3 separate regions of the Homo sapiens genome follow, and regions 2 and 3 are each linked to region 1. The links are contacts of gene promoters, found by promoter capture Hi-C in blood cells and fetal thymus (Javierre and others, 2016). All regions are on one chromosome and are shown on one strand. The core of a region is centred on a gene start or on the middle of the fragment in contact, and the rest is flanking DNA. Distances in the headings are between cores, read along the strand shown.

What was found. The method cuts DNA at HindIII sites, captures the fragments that hold promoters and counts their contacts. A CHiCAGO score of 5 or more calls a contact.
Region 2: a contact is called between a fragment that was not itself captured here and the fragment with the promoter of MED4-AS1 in region 1, in 1 of 17 cell types (naive B cells). The highest score is 5.4, in naive B cells.
Region 3: a contact is called between a fragment that was not itself captured here and the fragment with the promoter of MED4-AS1 in region 1, in 3 of 17 cell types (naive B cells, total CD8 T cells and total B cells). The highest score is 6.8, in naive B cells.

Annotation. Positions count from the first base shown.
Region 1 is chr13:48,075,433-48,078,434 of GRCh38, reverse strand. MED4-AS1 (MED4 antisense RNA 1) reads right to left here and starts at 1,298. Exons shown (of 3, transcript NR_046511.1): 1 at 1,084-1,298; 2 at 882-993. MED4 (mediator complex subunit 4) reads left to right here. Exons shown (of 7, transcript NM_014166.4): 7 at 1,124-2,711. The coding sequence ends at 1,296. The HindIII fragment of the contact is 10,244 bases long and covers 1-3,002 here.
Region 2 is chr13:48,342,076-48,344,775 of GRCh38, reverse strand. RB1 (RB transcriptional corepressor 1) reads right to left here. Exons shown (of 27, transcript NM_000321.3): 3 at 2,062-2,177. Among named protein-coding and RNA genes, the nearest start is that of RB1, 40 kb to the right of the region's middle. The HindIII fragment of the contact is 971 bases long and covers 841-1,811 here.
Region 3 is chr13:48,578,616-48,581,376 of GRCh38, reverse strand. The region is part of intron 1 of LINC01077 (long intergenic non-protein coding RNA 1077); the gene reads left to right. LINC00462 (long intergenic non-protein coding RNA 462) reads left to right here and starts at 476. Exons shown (of 3, transcript NR_051983.1): 1 at 476-536. It overlaps LOC105370202 (a long non-coding RNA gene), which reads right to left and starts at 186. Exons shown (of 3, transcript XR_941958.4): 1 at 111-186. RefSeq lists enhancers at 1,754-1,803, 1,824-1,893. The HindIII fragment of the contact is 227 bases long and covers 1,349-1,575 here.

The DNA.
Region 1 (3,002 bases), core at 49-2,548:
ACCACTTAATGTCCTGCACACCAACCAGGCATCACAGCAGTAAAGGAGACAAAACCACCTGATCCAGGAAGTGAAACTTGTTTGCTAGTGGAGTCCCACCTGTGCCCTCTACTGACAAAACTTAATTGTGGCAGCTGGCAAAGGAGAAATGGTTTCAGGGGCCAGAGAGAAGGGTAGATTTGAGGCTAACTGGCATACCTTTCTAGTTAATACCATAACTCTTTCTTTTGACCCTTTAAAAATCTGCCTTCTTTATTTGAGTCTTGAACTATACCTGTTTATGTGCTCTGTCCCTTTGCTTCAGAAATACAGACTTTAAATGTAACTTGGGCCCTTTTTTAAGGTATTTCATATGCATACATTGCTAATCAACCTCTCTTTGATGAGAGTCACTTACAATAGCAGTTCCTCTATCAAGAAATCATTCAAATCTATTATAATACTAAAGTACCTATTACTTGTTTATAATATGTAGAATAATCTACATAACCTAGTATACATAAGTATGTATTATATATGCATATAATAGATACATAGATACAGGAAAAATTTGTAATTACAAATGTCTTACAAAAGAAAAATTATGTCAACTGACTAAATAGTTTCTTACAGAGTAGTATGATTTTTTTAAAAAAGTCCCCAGTTGCTAAAATATCAACTTTTCCTTGATAAATTTGATTTTTATTAATTTGGCTAAATGTGTATTTTTTTCCTAGTCTTAAAAAAATTGGCACAATAGCTTATGCCTGTAATCCCAACACTTTGGGAGGCTGAGGTAGCAGGATAGCTTGAGCCCAGGAGTTGGAGACCAGCCTGGTTAACATAGTGAGACCTCATCTCTACAAAAACTTTAAAAAGTACTCAAGCATGGTGGCACATACCTGTAACCCAGTTACTCAGGAGGCTGAGGCAGGAGGATTGCTTGAGCCTAGGTCAGGGCTTCAGTGATGTATTCGTGCCACTGCACTCAAGCCTGGGTGACAGAATGAGACCCTGTGTCAAAAAAAGAAGAGAAAAAAGTAAAATTAAAAAAAATACTTCAAATTGTTGCATAAAGGGAAAAGTAAGAACTAGATTAATTACAGATAGAGCTGTTCTTATCTATGCTTCTTTTTTTCTCCAGATGTCCTTGCTCCACAGTATCCATGGCAGTCAAATGACATGTCGATGAATATGTTACCACCAAATCATAGTAGTGACTTTTTGTTGGAACCTCCTGGGCATAATAAAGAAAATGAAGATGATGTAGAGATTATGTCAACGGACTCCTCAAGCAGTAGTAGTGAGTCTGATTGAAAAACCTTAAAAGACAATATACAGAATTGAATACTGTAGAATTCTGTTTCTTTAACAGTAGCAGGGAAATGTAAACTACAGGTGACAAAAAATACCCAGGTAAACACTGGCTTTGGTAGAATTGTGCAGTCATTAAAAGTCAAAATTTTTTGACTTTCTTTTTAAAGCCAAAGACCATAGTTTTAGTTTTAAGCCACTAGGTAGATATTTAGGGGAATAGTCAAAATTTACTGTTGAAAAAGCAGTTGCTATGTGCTTTCTTACCCTGTTCTGTTCCAGTTTTGCTGGATTTGTACATAGCCATTCTAGAAATAGAGTTGAGGGAAATTATCCATATACATATCACTAATAGGCTTCTTGGAATTATTTAGAAAAGCATTTTTAAACTGGCAGTGGATGACTGAATAGGCATCATATTTCTTTTTGTGTGTCATTTAAAAGTAACAAAAACTGCCATTTGACAGTAAAGGCTCTTGGCTTCTGTTGGAGGCATGGGAAATTGTCTCAATTTGTACAGTTTGTAATTGTAATTTTTGTAAATAAATTTGTTTGTACATTGTATGCTTTTTTTTTAGTTTAAATATACTGTCAGTGTAGGTAGGAAATTATTTCTGTAAATCCAGTTGCATTTTATAATACTTGAGTGACTAACTGAATTGAAACCTATTACAATTAATAGGGTTCTCAAAGGCCTATTCCTATTAGAAGAAATAATTTTTTTTAATAATTGAAAAAATTTACCACAGCCTTGTCTGATTTTAAGAATAGATTGTGTGAAGATTTAGAATGGAAAGCAACCATTTCTTCCCTTCACCTTCCTCTTCTTACAGTTCCCCAGGAGTCATTTTTAACCACTTTTAATTTCTGTTGGTAACCTCTGTGTTTAGGTAATATGCTTATACAACTATTTCTTGATGTATCAGTTTTAGACAATGTATCTTCTGATTTCAAAGGTAATACAACATTTAATGTGAAACATTTAGTGAATACAGTAAAGGAGAAAATAAAATTGTTAGCATTCTACCCAGAGATAATATCAATTCATATTGTAGTGTAGATTTTTTTAAAGTTCACATACACTTTTTTGTAAAATGAGAATAATGTTTATTTCCTGAGATACTGCTGTATTTTTTAATTGCTAATCTGTATTCTTCAAATGAACTGAGAATTCCATTTTTCCATCATTTTTTCCTTTTGATTATTTTCGATCTCTAGAAAAATTGGAAAATAGGAGATTAATCTTATATTTTCACCATCTAGAATTAAGGACATACAATGTTTGAATGTCTTTCCCTCCAGGGTTATTTTTAGGAATGGACTAACACAATATCTAATTTTAACCTTGCCTTGTCCGTATACTAGGAATATTGATCCATGTGTATACATTCTTGAAAGATTTACTTTAATGGCTAAAATTTTATTGTGGTATGTGCCATAATGTAACTGCCTGTTTTTATCACCAAATCTTTAGGGTAGATTCAAAAGGATTGTGTTTTTCAAATTCTTTAATACTGTATTAGTTTTCAGTTGCTGCCGTAACAAATTACCACAAACTTGGCTCAAAACAACACAAATTTATCTTAGTTTTGTACATCACAAATGTGAAGTGGGTCTCACCTAAAATCAAGGTGTGAGCAGGGCTGCATTCCTTCCTGGAGGCCATAGGGGAGAATCTGTCCCCTGTGTCTTCCAGGTTTTAGAGGCCG
Region 2 (2,700 bases), core at 77-2,576, 270 kb before region 1:
ATTCATCCAATTCCAATATAAAACCATATGCTTCATTTTAGTGTTTCCCTTTCTATATTTGTAACTCTTCATTGACAGTGGGAAACCTGGAACCCATTCATCCTCAGTTTACTTACTCATTTAATCAATCCCCCTGTAAGTAACCATTTTCTATCTCCAAAGCCACCCCCTCCCCCGTGTGGACACTTTTCTGTTCTTCTCAGAACTGACTCCCAGTTCTGGACTTACCCCACCCCTTAGCATAGACACTTCCTCACTGTGGAAGGGTTCTGACTCCCCACAGCAGGCTGCCCTCCTCACCTCACTTGTGCACCGGCTGCCTGCACACCCTGCTTAGTCTCTGACACTGCACACAAAGCAGCCCCATCAGGTTGCCCCCACACAAAGGATGCCCTCCTCACCCTACTTTGACTCTAACATCCTGCTCTGGGCCCTGTGGCACCCTCCTGTCAGAGATACACACCAAAATGCATACTTTATTTGCCCCACCAATGATTTTAGAATTGAATTATTTTTGGAAAAGGAAAGTTGATTTAAATAATTTAAGCAGTTTAAATAATAACTTTAAATCACTCTTCGTTACTCTTTTCCATAAAAATTAACGTATTTGAAACATCAATATATACATTTTCCAATAGGATATTAAAGATAGCAATCATCAACTACATCTCACATGCTAATTTCTAATCATGAATTTTGTATAAGGAATTATACCAAAGCAGCTAACTGAAACAAAAGATAGTCACCTGACCCATCCATAGGCTGTCCAGCAACCAATGAGTTATAGCCCTCACTCAAAAAAATGGGCTGGACCAATCAAACACTGGGGAAATAAAAGCTTCAGCTAATCAGCAGGGGAACCAAAAGGTTATTAAAGTTCCTATGATACAGAAAGGAATGGGGGAGCCATGACAAGCTATGTGAAAAAGCAAATAAAGAAAGAGTAGAAATGACAAAGAATAGAAGATCAGAATGTTGATTAGAAGAGAAAAGAGAAAGGAACAAAAGTGCAGATATATCCAAAGAAAAAGAAATCAGCCTCAGAATAGCATTTATTAAAGAACTACTCTCAGTTCCAGTTTTTTTGAGGTATATGGCAATACCTGTCCTGAGATTACCATGAAAACTGAATTGTTACAACAAAGCCTTTTTTCTAGGGGAAACTTAAGGGAAGAAAACAAGGAAGGGAGAGAAGCAGTGAGTGCCTGTGGTGTTGCAGGTATTGACTCTATGAACTATTTATGTCATTTCTATTATTTTGTATATTTACAAATATACAAGGCCTTTGTTTCCACATTTTATTTAGATATAGCAAAAAAAGTATTTCAAAAATGCAACAATTTAATCTATCTCGTTTAAATAAAATATCAATTATGTTTAATTCTAGATGTCTTTGTTCAAGGAGAAACATAATTACCTATTTGGTAAAAATACATACTGTTGCATTTTTGTAAATATGTTGCAAAGAAAATGACTGGAAGTCCTGGATACTTTCTGAAGATAAAGTTCATACATTATTGAAAACACATTAATAAACTCTTCTTATGAGGCTTATAAACTCAACAACAAACACCTATTAAGTAATTAACTGGTTCAAGTATTGTAGCATGTTCAAATCAATATATAATCTGAAAAAAAGCATTTAGTTATAATATCCTCTAGTTAAAACAATCTTAGGCTTTAATAAATCTTACCTAAATACCTTTAAGATAAACTCAAACTACTTATATAAAGGTTTTAATATAAAACAAGCCTATTTACAAATCCTTGCTTTTCTGTTCACTTTATTAACAGCCACAATTAAGAAAGCTTACACATGAATAGTGAGAGACACAATGAAAATTTTTCCAGGACACAAACTGCTACCTCTTAAAGAAATACAGCATAAATACACTTTCATAACGGCTCCATGAGAGAATGGCAGTTCACTATTTGGTCCAAGTTCTTTTTGTTTTACTTTATTTTAGCATTTCTCACTAATTCACAAAAGTCTATTGAGAGGAAAATCCAGAATTCGTTTCCTTTTATGGCAGAGGCTTATATTTATACAAGAAACTTTACCTGATTTCTATGTTTTTCTGTAGCTCAGTAAAAGTGAACGACATCTCATCTAGGTCAACTGCTGCAATAAAGATACAGATTCCCCACAGTTCCTTTTTCTTTTGAATATAACCTCCCTGGGAACAAAAAATAAAGATCAAATATTTCATTAAATAATTCACACACTGGATACTATGTTAAAACTGTATTATAACTGATTTTTTCTTATTCAGCATACAAAATAAATGTTTGTAATACTGTATATTTGTAACACATCCTTCTGATGGCATATATTTGAAAGGATTTCATTTCACACTAATAACAAACATTCAAATTTTATATTATAAGGCAAAAAAGTATTAGAAAGATAAAAAATTAAATAAGTTATTGTGGAAACTTTAGGGGTCAGTCAATTCCTCAAAATAGTTTCATTTTTCAATAATCCAATGTCACTGAAGCTAAGTTAAGAGATCTAGAGTCCATAACATATAATTTGTTTGAAAAAAACAAGCCCACGTTCTTATTCGCTTATTCTTTCCTTGCTCTATTCATTCATTCCTTTTATCAATTTATTTATTCAATTATTTTTAACCTTGTATTTCATGTTTCAGTTCCTTAACTGTCTTTGTAAAATCAAAATAAGAATATGTACCCCATTTT
Region 3 (2,761 bases), core at 213-2,712, 500 kb before region 1:
AGCTAAGACAGGAGAGTCCCATGAAAGTAAAACTCCTTTTGCTTTCTCAGAAGGCACCCCTAAAGGAGCAATGCCTGGGTCACCTGCGCCAGCTCTATCTAGTCACCTACCTCAGTGTTAGAAGTCAGCAGCGCAACGATGTCCTCCAAAGCACAGTTCTGTTGAATTTAAGTCAGTCAATGATATGGTTTGGCTGTGTCTCCACCCAAATCTCATCTTGAATTGCAGCTTCCATAATTCCCACGTGTTGTGGGAGGGTGCCAGTGGGAAATCATTGAGTCATGGGGGCAGTTTCCCACATACTGTTCTCATGGTAATGAATAAGTCTTTTCAAACAACTTTTCAACAATGTTGAACAGAATAAGTCTTTTCAACAATGAATTTCAAAGTCTTTTCATCAAACATTTGATGCTTTTATAGGGGTTTCCCCTTTCGTTTGGCTCTCTTTCTCTCTTGCCTGCTGCCATGTAAGACGTCCCATTGCTCTTCCTTCATCTTCCACCATGATTATGAGGCGTCTCCAGCCACATGGAACTGTGAGTCCATTAAACCTCCTTTTTTTTAAGAATTACCCAGTCTCGGATAAGTCTTTATCAGCAGCGTGATTAATACAGTCGAGTAAACTATTTTTCTGTCAGAAAGCAATTCAAAGTTAGCTGATTGGTCTGACAATGAGGGCTGGCTTTGCCCACCAGGTGATACAGATGGTGTTTTTCATAAACTAAACTGGATACGCTCAATCTGCAACTATTTAAAGCTCAGAAAATGTGTGGGAAAGAACATCCTTTGCAACTATTAAGGTGATAAGGCAAATTTAGATGTCAACTTAAAAACACGCAAGGAGGCACATGATTATTCACAATTATTTTAGGGGGGTATGTGAGAAAACTCTGGAAGACCATTGAATCTTCCAGTTCTCTTCAAATTAACCAGTGTTGGGAAGTTCGTTTAACCACCTAGAGTTGCGATCCTAGTTTTGCTCTGCAGAGGGCAGCATTGCTAAAATATTATTCGACTGTAAAGAAAGGATTTTTTTTTTTTTTTTAACAAGCTCTTTCTAGGCTAACTTACCTCTCCTGTCTTGTGGCATTTTTTTTTTAATTCTTAATTTTTAATTTTTGTGGGCACATAGTAGGTCTATATATTTGTGGGATACATGAGATATTTGGGTACAGGCATGCAATGCATAATAATCACATCATGGAAAGTAGGGTATCCATCCCCTCAAGCATTTATCCTTTGTGTTACAAACCATCCAACTATACTCTTTTAGTTATTTTTAAATGTACAATTAAATTATTATTGACTATAGTTACCCTGTTGTGCTATCAAATACTAGGTCTAAGCTTCAGCATTTATGGCCTCGAGGAGAGAGTTGCTATTTGACCAGAACAGAAATACAAAAGGCCTCTGTGTCAGGCACATTTTTCCAGGGCAGAAACAGCATTTTTTTTTCCTTTACTAAACAATTATCTGTCTTTCTGGAGTCTAACACAGTGCCCAGCACCAACAAGCGAGTGCCCAAAAAGTGTATGATGGATGAAAAGTAGTGCAGTCTCCAACTCCAGGGAAGCTTTGGGTTAAACATGCAAGACATGGCTCACCAGCATTCCTGAAACTCTAAAACCTGCCTTGATCAGATTGCTGTAAGTTCAAATAGTCCTTAGAAAGAGCAGCCACCACCTGGAAGGACTTTGGCACTGGCTGACACAAAATGGCCTGACTCCAGCTACACCTGGTTATGGTGCTCTTTGGTCCCCGGAAATCTTCTGATGCCATTTCACCAAGAAAGTCACATGATTTTCTTATAGTTGGTAAATTCTTTCCAGGCCTTAAATAAATGGCCAAAATTTTACACTTAAAGCGCAGGTTAAGTATGGAGACAAATTACCCATACTTCCCGGTGAATTCAGCTGTAACAGGAATTGAAACTTTCTCTCAAAAATAAGAAAGGGAAGGGAGATCAGGTCGAAAGAAAAAGCATGAAGTAATGAATTTTGACTCTGAGGCTCTCAGTTCCTCTTTTCCAACTTCGTGTCTCCTCCCTGTGGTGTTCAGCTCCTACCCCCAGCTAAGTGTCTGCACGTTATTTCTGGCTGCAGAAATTGTCTTCAGGCAAGTTTTAACTTGTGGGTGTTAACTGCTTCCACCAGGGCATTTGAGTATTTGTTTAATTTGAACTAAAATAAAGGGTTATGCTTCCTGTAAAGGGATCCCAGCATCAGGAACAAGTGTGCCAGGCAGCGTTTTCAGAGAACAGGCTCTCTGGCTGCTGCTAAGCCTGGAGACAGGCAGGGGAGGAATACAGTGGCTTCCCCCAGTATCCTCCCATGGAGCTGCAAAGGTCCCACCGCTAATAAGATAGGATGGGACTGAGTCAAGGTCTGTTGAACTAGAAACCTGTGTTCTTAACCTACTGACTGCTATTCTCACTCTCTGGACTGGCCCAGACTGGCCCCGGACAGGCTCAATACATGATTGTTGAGTTAAAAACAAAAAAAAACAAAATCTCATTGAGAAAGAAAAGAAACTTTATCTGAAGAATGTGAGCCATTTTAAATTATCAGGCCCAAAGAGGCATTGAAATGTGACAGCAATTATGTCTCATTCCCTGCCTTGAGCTAAGTAATCACCTCTTGAAGCCACTTGCTATGTGGGCTCAAGACTGACTGACACCAAGTGGCCATACATTAACCTAACAATGCCATATGCTAGATACCATAGCTCTTACCCTATAGCTCAACAAGGTATAGCCAATCAT